Regions from separate parts of the Homo sapiens genome. Here regions 1 and 2 are each linked to region 3. The links are contacts of gene promoters, found by promoter capture Hi-C in human tissues and cell types (Jung and others, 2019). All regions are on one chromosome and are shown on one strand. The core of a region is centred on a gene start or on the middle of the fragment in contact, and the rest is flanking DNA. Distances in the headings are between cores, read along the strand shown. Region 1 overlaps SPATS2 (spermatogenesis associated serine rich 2). Region 2 overlaps SPATS2 (spermatogenesis associated serine rich 2). Region 3 holds the start of KCNH3 (potassium voltage-gated channel subfamily H member 3).

The links. Contacts are between HindIII fragments. The study calls those that stand out against the background at their distance.
Region 1: a fragment that was not itself captured here is called in contact with the fragment with the promoter of KCNH3 in region 3 in 1 of the 25 tissues and cell types used here (mesenchymal stem cells).
Region 2: a contact is called between a fragment that was not itself captured here and the fragment with the promoter of KCNH3 in region 3, in 2 of the 25 tissues and cell types used here (liver and lymphoblastoid cells).

Annotation. Positions count from the first base shown.
Region 1 is chr12:49,500,259-49,504,612 of GRCh38, reverse strand. The region is part of intron 9 of SPATS2 (spermatogenesis associated serine rich 2); the gene reads right to left. Among named protein-coding and RNA genes, the nearest start is that of KCNH3, 37 kb to the left of the region's middle. The HindIII fragment of the contact is 3,700 bases long and covers 1-3,113 here.
Region 2 is chr12:49,478,653-49,483,041 of GRCh38, reverse strand. The region is part of intron 3 of SPATS2 (spermatogenesis associated serine rich 2); the gene reads right to left. Among named protein-coding and RNA genes, the nearest start is that of KCNH3, 58 kb to the left of the region's middle. RefSeq lists an enhancer at 3,143-3,730. The HindIII fragment of the contact is 3,681 bases long and covers 321-4,001 here.
Region 3 is chr12:49,537,192-49,541,406 of GRCh38, reverse strand. KCNH3 (potassium voltage-gated channel subfamily H member 3) reads right to left here and starts at 2,377. Exons shown (of 15, transcript NM_012284.3): 1 at 1,915-2,377; 2 at 275-508. The coding sequence starts at 1,990. RefSeq lists enhancers at 754-803, 1,448-2,257, 2,258-3,069 and silencers at 2,387-2,566, 3,297-3,416. The HindIII fragment of the contact is 20,416 bases long and covers 1-4,215 here.

The DNA.
Region 1 (4,354 bases), core at 14-2,513, 36 kb after region 3:
TCCTTTTAAAAAATACCTTTTGACTTTCATAAAATGGAAACTTTTTATTTAAAAGAGAAGCTGAGTGTGTATCCTGTTGGCATTTTTCATCAACACATTATAGGACAATCTTCCAAAGGAGTTTATATATTCTAGCTTCATGTTCCACTCCATATCCTGCCTCCTTAATATCCTTAAACTTAAGTCAACTAACAGCTCCAACAATGAAAGGCAGACAAATATTACTAATTAACAAGAAAAGTAAACTTGGGTCTAGAGATGATTATTGCTAAGTCACCAATAAGAAGAAATTTTAAGTTTTATACATTAGAATGCTTCTGAGTTTACCTTTCTATAGGTGTGTCAGTTTTTGTTCGGCATCAAAGTGAAAGGAGTTATCTGTATAATTTCCCTAGTGCCTTGTCAGGGGTAATGTACTTTTACTGGGGCAAATCTGTTAGAACTCTTTGCCTTTTTTTTATGCTATAACCAACACAGAAATGTCTTTCTAAGTGACATTAACTCCAAGCTCTGGTTTGGTGCCAAATGGAGTTAGCTCACTTGCCAATTATGTCTTGAAGTAGCGGCTACAAGGAACATTGAAATAAGGTGGTTTATAAACTCAATCAACCAGAGCAAAGGGCTTTATACTAGCAGGAAAGGGCAGGTAATCTCTTTCCTCAAGTTAAATTGACCTGGTTGTTACGTCAGCTAATCAATCCTAAATACACAGTTCCCAGGTAGGAAACCATTTCATTTGTCATTTATTGAAGGAGGCTCCTCCTGGCTGGGTTCCAGTCAGCAGGAATTCACAAATCTCTCTCCCGGAACTGCGTTTCCTGCTGGTTCAAGCTTGTTCCGAATGGAATCAGATCCTGTGACTAAGTAATCAGTAAGCTGAACAATCATGGAGACCAGAGGCTTATCAAAGCAAAGTTGTGATGACCTACTACACTTAGCTCTTTCTTTTTTCTTTTTTTTTTTTGAGATGGAGTCTTGCTCTGTCGCCCAGGATGGAGTGCAGTGGCGCGATCTTGGCTCACTGCAAGCTCCTCCTCCCGGGATCACGCCATTCTCCTGCCTCAGCCTCCTGAGTAGCTGGGACTACAGGCGCCCGCCACCACGCCCGGCTAACTTTTTGTATTTTTAGTAGAGACGGGGTTTCACCTTGTTAGCCAGGATGGTCTCCATCTCCTGACCTCGTGATCCACCCGCCTCGGCCTCCCAAAGCGCTGGGATTACAGGCATGAGCCACCGCGCCCAGCTCTTTTTTCTTTGTTTTTTGAGATGGAGTCTCGCCCTATCGCCCAGGCTGGAGTGCAATGGCGCGATCTCAGCTCACTGCAACCTCCACCTCCTGGGTTCAAGCAATTCTCCTGCTTCAGCCTCCCTAGTAGCTGGGATTACAGGTGCACGCCACCACGCCCGGCTAATTTTTGAATGTTTAGTAGAGATGGGGTTTCACCATGTTGGCCAAGCTGGTCTTGAACTCTTGACCTTGTGATCTGCCCGCCTTGGCCTCCCAAAGTGCTGGGATTCAGGCATGAGCCACTGTGCCCAGCCAGCTCTTTATTTTCTAAACAAGCCAACAATATCTTATATGACAAGAATGCAGTGCAAAGGGCATGGTGCTTCCTCCTAGAGGTTCAGAAAGGGGAAAAATCAGTTACCTAAAATAATTTCCAGAAGTTAGACCTTAATTTAAGGAAAGTTTGGAGAAATGGTGGGATTTAGATAAATACAGAGGAATAGGAGAACATTTTCAGGCTGGGAAAGTGGCATTAACTAGTAGATGGAAGAGGAAATGTGAATGTTAAGTTTTGAGACAATGAGTAATCTGGCAGGAGCAAAAATATGTGTCAAGAAAAACAGAAGACAGCCAGGCGCAGTGGCTTATGGCTGTAATCCCAGCACTTTGGGAGGCCTAGATGAGAGGATTGCTTGGGCCCAGGAATTGGAGACCAGCCTGGGCAATATGGTGAAACCTCATCTCTACAAAAAATTAAAAAATTAGCCAGGTGTGGTGGCACATGCTTGTAGTCCCAGCTAGGGGACTAGGGAGGCTGAGGGTGGGAGGATGGCTTGAGCCCAGGAGGTGGAGGTTGCAGTGAGCCATGACCGTGCCACCGCACTCCAGCCTGGGTGACAGAGCCAGACCCTGTCTCAAACAAACAAAGAAAAACAGAAGACATGACATTAAATTCCTAGCCATAAAACCTGAAAAGTAAAACTTAGAGTTCAGGACAAGGCATGGGTAGACTAAGATGAATTATCTAGCCCCAAAGTAAGTTTTGGTTCTGATGATTTAACTTTTTGGAGGCATTATTTCATTTTGATTAACTACTCCTCTGCAATTCCAGAGACCAGGAGGACTGAGGGGACCTACACTCTCCTCTATCTCTTATATGTTGTGGCAAAAGTGACTAGACTAAATTTGTGAACAGAGACACAGTTAGGTATAACCTGAGGGAACAGTCTACAGGCAGCAAGAAAGCATGTATGGTTTGTTCTTTTCATGAACACTTCCTGTCATATTTCAGATCTAGACAGTTACTAAAAATAAGTATAATGAACAAGTTCTAAGTCTCAAAACATCACCCTAGCTGCTTGTCTTCCTGTCATTTTAATATGGTCCTTAAGTCTTTTCTAGTTTCAAAAAATCCCTTATAAAATACCTCCCACAAAGGAGCTAGAATTTAAACATCTGTTAACACCAGCTGGGCACGGTGGCTCACTCCTGTAATCCCAGCACTTTGGGAGGCAGAGATGGGCAGATCACCTGAGGTCAGGAGTTCGAGACCGGCCTGGCCAACATGGTGAAACCCCATCTCTACTAAAAACACACAAAAAATTAGCCAGGCATGGTGGCACATGTCTGTAGTCCCAGCTACTCCGGGAGGCTGAGGCAGGAGAATGGCTGCAACCTGGGAGGCGGAGGTTGCAGTGAGCCAAGATTGGGCCACTCCACTCCAGCCTAGGCGACAGAGACTCCGTCTCAAAAAACAAACAAAACAAAACAAAAAAACAAATATCCGTTAACACCTTAATATCTAACAGTTAAAACAGCTTCAGTGTTCCAGGAAACATTAGAATATTGCTATGGTTTGAATGTGATCCCCAAAGCTCGTGTGTTGGAAACTTAATCCTCAGTGCTACAGTGGTGAGAGGTGGGACCTTTAAGAGATGATTAGGTCATGAGGGGAGAGTCCCACAAATGAATTAATTTTGTTATTGAGAGAGTGGGTTCATTAGAAAATTGAGTTTGGCCCTCTCTGGCTCTCCCATGCATGCTCCCTTGCCCTTCTGCCATCTGCCATGGAATGACACAGCAAGGTCCTTGCCAAGATGTGGGCCCCTTGACCTTAAACTTCTCAGACTCCAAAACTGTAAAAAATAAATCTCTATTCACTATAAATTACCCAGCTTCAGGCAGATCACTTGAGCCCAGTAGTTCAAGACTGGCCTGGGCAACATAGTGAGACCACATTTCTACAAAATATTTAAAAATTAAAAAATGAGCCAGGTGTGGTGGTACATGCCTGTAGTACCAGCTACTTGGGAGGCTGAGGTGGGAGGATTGCTGGAGCCCAGGAGGCTGAGGCTACAGTGAGATGTGATCGTGCCATAGCATTCCAGCCTGGGTGACAGACAGAGTAAGACCCTGTCTCAAAAAACAACAATAATAATAATAATTAATAAAAGGGCACTTTATTGGAGTGGCATAAATTAAAAAGGATGGAAGAAGGTAGGAAAGCAAAGACAGATTTTTTCTACTTTATAATTTTGTTCAAAAACATACATCATGTCATTTGTTATAGGATCTTAGTTTAAAAGGAGACTTTTTTTTTTCTTTTCTTTTTTTGAGACAGAGTTTCGCTCTGTCGCCCAGCCTGGAGTGCAGTGGCGAGATCTTGGCTCACTGCAAGCTCCGCCTCCCGGGTTCACGCCATTCTCCTGCCTCAGCCTCCCGAGTAGCTAGGACTACAGGCGCGCGCCACCACACCCAGCTAATTTTTTGTATTTTTAGTAGAGACGGGTTTTCACCGTGTTAGCCAGGATGGTCTTGATCTCCTGACCTCAAGATCCGCCCACCTCGGCCTCCCAAAGTACTGGGATTACAGGCTTGAGCCACCGCACCGGCCTAAAAGGAGACTTTAAAGTATATGATCTACTCTATAATTATGTGTCCCTTTCCAAACAATATTAAACTCCAGCTCATTTCTAGAGCATTGTGAGTTATCTGTACCATTCTCACACTGTGACCAAGAGAAATAGAACAAAGCAGAAAGCTAAATATACCATAGGATTTATAAGTCTCTCCTACTATGTAGTTAGTCATGAATGAATGAACTTGGGGAATGGCTGACCATCTTTA
Region 2 (4,389 bases), core at 912-3,411, 58 kb after region 3:
CAAGGCAGGTGGATCGCTTGAGCCCAGAAGTTCAAGAGCAGCCTGGGCAATATGGTGAAACCCTGCCTCTATAAAAAGGAGAAAAATTAGCTGGGCATGGTGGCACTTGCCTGTAGCCCCAGCTAATTGGGAGGGTGAGGCGGGAAGACAGCTGGAGTCTGGCAGGTTGAGGCTGCAATGAGTCGTGAATGCACCACTGCATTCCAGCTGGGTGACAGAGAGAGATCCTGTCTCAAAAAACAAACAAAAAACAAAGGGTAGTTCTGCAAACACTCAATTATTGGCCAAAATAAATTAGTATAATTAGGGTTTATCTGGAATACTGTTAGGATAATGATTAAAAATATATAAAGCAGCTATTTCAGTCAAGATCCCAAAGAGGAAGCGAATGGCATACTCAAATTGGGCAATCTTAATAGAGTTTAATAATAGGAGTATTTTCAAAGGTGTTAGCAAAGAGTAGGGAAACCACCCAAGATAGGGCTGTACCTCTTGTTACTGTTTTTGCTGGCTTTTAAGCAATGTGCACTGCTACTTGAGACTTGAGTGTGAGGAGGAAGCAGTTACAGGAGCCAAAGACAGAAAGGGCCCTTTTATTTTTGTTTCATCTGGTATAGAAAGCGCCATCAGACAGTTGCTGTGACCTTTGGCCAAAGGACACACTCAGCCCACAGCTACCCCTCAGAGAAAGATTAGAGGAATAAAAGTCCCCTACCTTACTCTCCTCCCTTCCTCGGAATCTCCTGCCAATGCTGCCCAGTGGCCAAACTTAAGTAAGCCAGAGGGCATGGGAGGCACTGAGATGGTCTACATAGGTCAGGAGGGCACAAATGACAATTTTGCATTTATATTCTATGACATGAGGTCACCAAAAAGATAAAGCAATAATCTAACATCTTAATTTGTCTACTCACTAGCTGATACTGCCTTTTTAAACTTAAACCAACACCTCAAGTAGATTCAAAACCTTACTTTAATCAACTGGCACCTAAATGTCTCTTAGTATTATACAGAAAGTAATTTTTAATTCCCATCAATACTTAGTGATTTTTAAACTTATTTTTTCATGAAAAGAAAGCTTAAGATTTACCTAATTCTATTGGTAAGAAATAAGGCAGGATTTCATCTTTTTATTAATATTTAGCTGTGATAAGAGAGCATGTATTCTATCAGAAACACATTTTTAAGGAAAAAGTGCTGCTAAATATTCTCTAATCCTGGGTGTTCAGGTAAAAAAAAAATTCTCAGGCAAGATTCATAAAGAATATGAGGATGCCTAGGCCAGATGCAGTGGCTCACACCTGTAATCCCAGCACTTTGGGAGGCTGAGGCGGGCGGATCACTTGAGGTAAGGAGTTCGAGATCAGCAAACATGGTGAAACCCCGTCTCTACTAAAAATACAAAAATTAGCCAGGCATGGTGGCAGGCACCTGTAATTCCAGCTACTGGGGAGGCTGAAGCAGGAGAATTGCTTGAACCCGGGAGGCAGAGGTTGCAGTGAGCTGAGAATGAGCCACTGCACTCCAGCCTGGGCGACAGAGCAAGACTCCATCTCCAAAAAAAAAAAAAAAAAAAAAAAAAATGAGGAAGCCTTGAGCTTGTTGAGCTTTCTTATTTATTTCACTCTATCAGGAACCATTTCAGAAGTTTTTTTGGAATTATTTCTTTCTTTTTTTTCTGGAGACGGAGTCTCGCTCTGTTGCCCAGGCGGGGAGTACAGTGCTGTGATCTTGGCTCACTACAACCTCCGCTTCCCGGGTTCAAGCCATTCTTCTGCCTCAGCATTCCCAGTAGCTGGGATTACAGGCACGCGCTACCACGCCTGGCTAATTTTTGTATTTTTAGTAGAGACAGGGTTTCACCATGTTGGTCAGGCTGGTTGGAATTATTTCAAATAGCACACATTCAGGTATATTTGAGAAAAAGTATGTTATTTACAGTACAAATGACATATTTGTAAATACTACAGGTTTTGTTATTATTGTTTTTGCTGGCTTCAAAAATTAGGTAAAAGTTGTTTTTAGGCACTGAGAATGACATAGAAATAGCTGAGCCTGATTATTCCATGTATTAAATCAACCTTGAACAGGTGTCTTGACAAGCTTTAAAACACAGTCTCATTCTGCTGTTAATTTATAATTTAACCTGAAGATCATACTGTACTAAGTGTTTTAGAATTAATTTTGTTTAAAGTTCTGATTATATTTATACCCAGGGTGCATATTTATTTATTAAAAAAAAAAAACAGAAAACAACAAGTGTGGCAAGAATGTGGAAAAACTGGAATTCTGGGGCACTGCTAGTGGAAATGTAAAATGGTACAGCCCCAATAAAAACCACATGTTGGTTCCTTAAAAGATAAAACATAGAACTACCACATGATGCAGCAATTCTGCTTCTTGGTATACACACAAAAGAAATGTCACCAAGGTCTCTAAGAGGTGTTTTGTACATCCATGTACTGCTGTAGGCGTTGAGATACACTAGGATACAACGGTGAACAAGAAACGTTTCCTGCCCTCTTAGAGTTTTACTGTCTAGTGCAAGAGACTGATTAAAAAAAAAGAATAATCATCTCAATATAACAACAATGCATTAATTTATCTAACTGTACAATACTAAATACATATGCTAGACCTCCACAATAACATTATTATGGAGTGAAAATTATTAAAAGCTCTACCACCTTGGGTGCTATCTAAAGAGGTATGGCAGAGCTAATATGAACACACAGTAAGGCTCTTAGAGGTACTGAAGTGAATTTGATACAATTATCCATGAGCAGATTATCTCCATCATGGAAAAGCCTATGCCCAAATTCTAGGCTGCTCACCATAGAGACAAGTGTAGAGGGGGTGGAACCCAGGTATGGAGTAAGTCTAAGGATTCTCATGGGGGTTACTGAATTTGTATCTGAATTCAACAACCAAAAACTTAACAGTTTTGGATTGCTTGTATCTTTCTTTTGTTAACATAATGGCAAATTATTCCCTCTGACAAGCAAGGAGAAAAATGGAATTATAATCCCTCCCAGAATATCCTCTCTTAATCTCATAGTGATGAGAAAATCAGTCACGGTACTACTCCTTGCCCAAAGTCACACAGTAAATCCTACTGTAGAATCAAAAAGGCAGTCCAGGTTTTATGCTTTACATTAGTGCTGTGTAACTCACCAAATATACTAGTTCTCAAGTTGCCATTATTTTAACAGTACCTTGATATATAGCCTTTCTTCTAAGGATCTCAGATTCTTGCTATAATCTACTGATATTCCTTACACATACATAAAGTAAGTTGAGTACTAACATTATTCACATCATACTGGCTGCAGCAGGGAGGCACCACCAGGCCAGCAGGGATACACACTCAGTGGAGCCTGAAAGTGGGTGGCAGGGGGAGCAGGAGCCCTACCCCTTCTGAGTTGGGGCAGGAACTCCCCAGGTGCCACTGCCAAAACTGTGGCTGTAGACTCAGGCCTCCCGCTCCATGAAGCAGGCAGGAGCCCCCCATCTCCCAGCTGTAGCTGTCCAAACCATAGCTGCACACTCAGGCATCCGTGTACTCTTGAGGCCACAGGAAGGCCTCCCTGCCCTCACAGGCTAGGAAGTGCCTGCTCCTGCTTGTCTGGCTTCTCCCTGTTGTCGGCACCTGCTCCAGTCTCAGCAAAGTTGGCTGAGCCAGGGTGCTATGAATGGCAGCAGGAGGCAGGCAGATTCTTGGGCAGAAGGGGGTGGGTCCCTGGTTAGGCCCCACTGTCAGGCCAGGGAGGACCTTCTGAAGGCTGGGGGCCAGGCTGCTAGTCCAGCATACTCGGGTAGTGACTTGTGGTGCCTTTTCCAGGCCCGCCCATGGCCACCCACGGACCAACTGGCACGCACTTTCTCCCCTCTAAGGTCGACAAAAGCCCCAGGCTCAGCCAGAGCTGGGCAGGGGATGGAGAGAGGACAGGGACAACCTGCTGCAGAGAGGAGCCACCTTCTCTGCTGAGAGCTGCAGAGACAATGGGACGACCTGCTGGCAAACCATCCTCTACAGGGCCTCCTCTCTGCTGAGAGCTGAATACTCTGTAGGAGACGACCTGCCTACAGAGAGGAGGTACCCACTGCGGGTCTCCGCTGAGCTGTTGTAACACTCAATAAAGCTCCTCTTTCATCTTGTTCACCTTCCACTTCTTTGTATATGTCATTCTTCCTGGATGCAGGACAAGAACTCAGGCAAAGGCATCACTGGCCACAGAGGTTTCTGGCCAGAAAAGTGACACTCCAAAGATCCGTAACAATTTCACCATGGCCAAAGAAAGACCAGAAGAGGTAAGATCCAGTTAAATATAGGTAAAGCCCAGAAGTCTAGATAACCTGACAAGTATGATTATTACTTAACATATTTTC
Region 3 (4,215 bases), core at 1,128-3,627:
TGCCCTGCCGAAATGCGGATGTTTTTCTGTTGGATGCGGGAAACCCGAGGTTGGAACTGAATGCAGGCTGAGGCTAGGGTGAGGCAGGTAGAGATGGGGAGCCGGGGCAAGAGGTGGGATGGAGCAAGAGGGGTTGGATGGGGGGATGGGAAGATGGGATGACATGGGGAGATGGAGAAGATGGCAACAGAAAGGAGGAGGGACAGTGGATGGGGCTGGTGCCAGGCTGGGTGAGACTGCAAAGGTGAGGCAGGCTGGCCAGGTGGCCCCTCACCGCTCTTCCGGTACAGGATCAGCTCAGCCTTGAACTCCTTGTGCTCGTCCAGGGCCTTGCGGATCTGTTGGCGGACGAGCTCACTGGTGTCTGGCCCATAAAGGAAGGAGCAGGCACAGCCCCGCTGCATGACCTCAGCCCGGGAGAAGCCCGTGAGGTCACAGAAGCCATCAGAGCAGTAGACCACGGGGAAGAGCCCCGCCACCTGGGCGTTGCCCAGCACGAAGTTACTGTCTGCAAGAGAGCACTTCTCAGAGGAGGCGTGGGGTGAAGGGGCAGGAGGCCTACCACCCCTCCTTTCTCAAATGCCTGCAACCAAAGAGTGGGTTTTCCAAACCCCAGGAATCCTGCGTGTGTTAAGGCAGGGCTGTTTATGAATAGCAATCAGTGTGTGTCACCTGTTTGTCAGTGCCCTGCAGCAGGTGTGAGTACATTCAAGGATCAGCACATGTGAACTGAGGTCGGTGAATGAAGCGCTGTGCGGGCACTGTGCCTTCTGGAGGGTGTCCTGAGCAATGTGGGGTAAGGGCTGGGATTGGGGAATCCCTAATGAGGACTGCCCTGCCAGCTCTGGGCCAGCCTCAGCCCCACCTCTACTTCTGCCAGGCTCACCCACTAGCCAGGTACCCAGGTTGGCTGTCTGGCTTCTCCCACTGAGACACACCTAGACTGGAGGCAACCCCAGACCACCATACATCCTGCTGTCTGTGTTTTAGCCCTAGCTGCCTGACCTGGCTCAGGAATTAGTGAATGTGATCAAGAATGGGGGTGTAAGAATGGTGACTGAGCACGGGAGCCAGGAGCCAGGAATGTATTGGGGAGTGGGGGGCACTGAATCAGCAGGCTGCAGGAGCCAAGCACACTGGCAAAGCAGATGGAGGAGCCCGGAGTGGGGAGAGCGCAGGGCTGGGCTCCCACCCCCTATCAGGAACCGGAGACCAAGGAGGACCTAGGCAGAGAGCTGGGAAGCCCCACGGGGGATGTGAGGGAGAGGAGGAGGGAGGGGCTTTCATCACTTCCCCTGTGCTCAGAGCCCCCAGAACCGGGGATCCAGAGCTCGGGGCGCCTTCTCCAAACTTCCCCAGTCCTGATGGGAGTCCCCAAACCATCTTCTTGGGGCTAGATGGCCTCCCCAAGTCTAGGGGGTTCAGGCTATGAGACACGGGGCTTGGACACACGGTGCTCTCCCGAGTGCCGCCTACTCTTATCTCCGTTTGCAAATCTCTTTTCTAAATCTGTGTTTTGAGCCCTCTCAGCTGTCCCTGAGCACTGTTCACCCGCCTCGCCTTACCCCACCAGTCCGAGGGTAGTTGCTGCGACAGCGCCAGACGCAGGGGTGGGATGGGTCAGACTGACTAGGTTCGGGTTCGAGACCCGGCTAACAGAGAGCATCCCAGGACCCACACCCAGGGACTTCTGGCCCTGTTGCCTCGCCTGAAGCAGTGTTGACCCCGAACCTTCGAACCTTCGGGGAAACAGCGCCTAGCAGGAGACGATGGCCCCAGCCTCAAGAGGGGCGGGTAGGGAGGAGAGGGTGAGAATAGGCTGGCGCCAAGCTGGGCTGCTGGGGGTTCGGGGAAGGCGGGAGCCCTGGCGAGGGTCCGGCGGCCCGGGTGCAAGTGGGCGAGGGTCGGACTCACGCGTGCCGTCGAAGCGCGTAGCGATGGTGTCCAGGAAGGTGTTCTGCGGCGCCAGGAGGCCCCGCATGGCCGGCATCTTAGGCGCCCGCGGCTGCCCGCCCCATCCCTCCGGGGTGCGGGGACTCCGCGCCGGGGGAGGGCGCCCAGCTCGGCCGCCCCCCGCCGGGCCCCGCGCTCCCTAGCGCAGCCGTCGGGGGGCAATGCGCAGACCGGGATCCGGGGTCGCGCCGGACGCTGGCGCGCGAGGGGGCGTCCGCGCCGTCGGGGCCCGGAGCATGGCGCGCGGCCCCTCGCGCCCTCGCCGCCCACAAATCCCGGGCTCCAGGCCCCGCGGCCGCCGCGCTCTCAGCACCTCCCGCCGCGGCAGCGGCTCGCGTGTCGGCTGCGGGTGGGCTTCCGCTCGGCTTCGCTCGGCGCCGGCTCTCGGCAGCTCCCTCCGTCTGTCGGGGAGAAGCTGCAGCCTCCCTCCCTCCCTCCCGCGCCCGCCGCCTGCACCGGGGTAACCATGGAGACGGGGCACACCCAGCCAGGGCCGCCTCCTTAAAGGGACAGGCCTCCCGCGGAGGGCTCCCCTCCCTTCGGGACCTCGGCGGGGGCGGGGAGGTGGCGGCCGCCCTGATCCCACCCCGCGGGCCTCCCCGCCCGTACCTCGGAGAACCACTGGCGAGCGGCCGGCCCCCTTTGGCTCACTCGGCCTCAGCCGCAGAGGGGAGGCGTCTTTCTCTGCAGCCCGGGGGCTCTCCGAGAGCCTCCTAGCAGCCTCTCCTCCCCCGGCGGAATGGGAGGGGGGCTCGGGGCGTGGGGGGCAGGGGACGCATGCTGTGGAAGATGCTCTCCCCGAGGAAAATGCAGTGGGCAAGGGGACAGGGCGACAGGCGCAGGTGAAGGCCCTGCGGCCAGCGGAGGCCGGCGCTCTAGAGGGGCTCCAGCCGCACCCGGGAAATCTAAAAGCAGATGGGGCGGGGGTTCTGCGCGCACAGCTGCCCGGCCCTCGAGACTTTCTCATCCTCAACTTGACGCTCTGGAAAATGGATCCAGCTGCTCCTATGAGGTGTCTCCGCAAGCAGGAGCTGCCTGGAAACCAGAGGGTGGGTAGCCCTAGGAGTAAGGGTCAGACGTCCTCCGTGTGACCCCGTGGGCGGAAAGGGTGTGTGGTGGGGAGGGGAGCGCCAGACCCCTTGTCCTGCCCCTCCATTTCCCTCTGGCATTTGTCACCTCTTGCCTCTCCTAAGCGCGCTAGAGGGTCAGGTGGTAAATACAGGGGACCGGCAGGGGTCAGACACTGCGAAAAAACTTCCGAACCTTGTGCGTGCGGGTCCTGGCACCAGGAGAGCGAGGAAGGCCGAGCCCCGCGCCTCACGCAGCTCGTCCTGGAGAGCTCCGCGCGGCGCCGCGCGGGGTGCTGCCCTGGGGCGGCTGCAGGGAGCCCCTTCCCGGCGGGGCGGAGCCGGGCCCGGGGCGGCCGTCTTTTCTTGGCCTCCCGCGCTGCGACGGTCCCCCGGACTTGCCTGCCAGCGCCGCTCCTCCTCCCTCCCACGATTTGCCAGCGAGCGCGGCTGCCGCCCGCGCCCAGAGGAGCCGCCGGGGCCAAAACAGCAATTTGTTCCCTAACGAGCGAAGCGGTAGGCTCAGCACCCCCATCCCTCGAGACGCACTCACAGTCACCAGCATCAGAAAGATGCTACCCCTCATCAGCGACGAGAGCCAAAGCCCCAGGCACCTGTATCTAAATGAGCTGGCGCTTTGGGAAGGGAGGACGCGCTCCTCCTTCTCCGGTCCTGTGAAGCCTGGAATCTGGTCCCCAGGACGAGGAGTGACCCTGAGGAGTGACCCTAAGGAGTCGGGAGATCCTACTCCCATCTCATCCCCAGCCTTGGCTGGATCCTGGCTGTAAAGTAATCCCCTCCCCCAGCCGTTCAAGGCTTCCTCTCCAGGCGGCGGTCCAGCTGTCTACTAAAAAGAAGGACATTTTAGGAGTCAGTTCACTTTGAGACAGGATAAGGCCACAATTGAAATCACCCACCCACTTGGGAACCAGGTCTGCCACTTGCTGTCCCTGTGATTAAATTTTTTTTTTAATTTTGGTCTGTGTGAATTTTTTTTTTTTTTTTTTTTTTTTTGTGACGGAGTCTCCCTCTGTCGCCCAGGCTGGAGTGCATTGGAGCTATCTCTGCTCACTGCAACCTATGCCGACCAAGTTCAAGCAATTATCCTGCCTCAGCCTCCCAAGTAGTTGGGACCACAGGCATGCGCCACCACGCCCCGCTAATGTTTGTATTTTTAGTAGAGATTGGGTTTCAC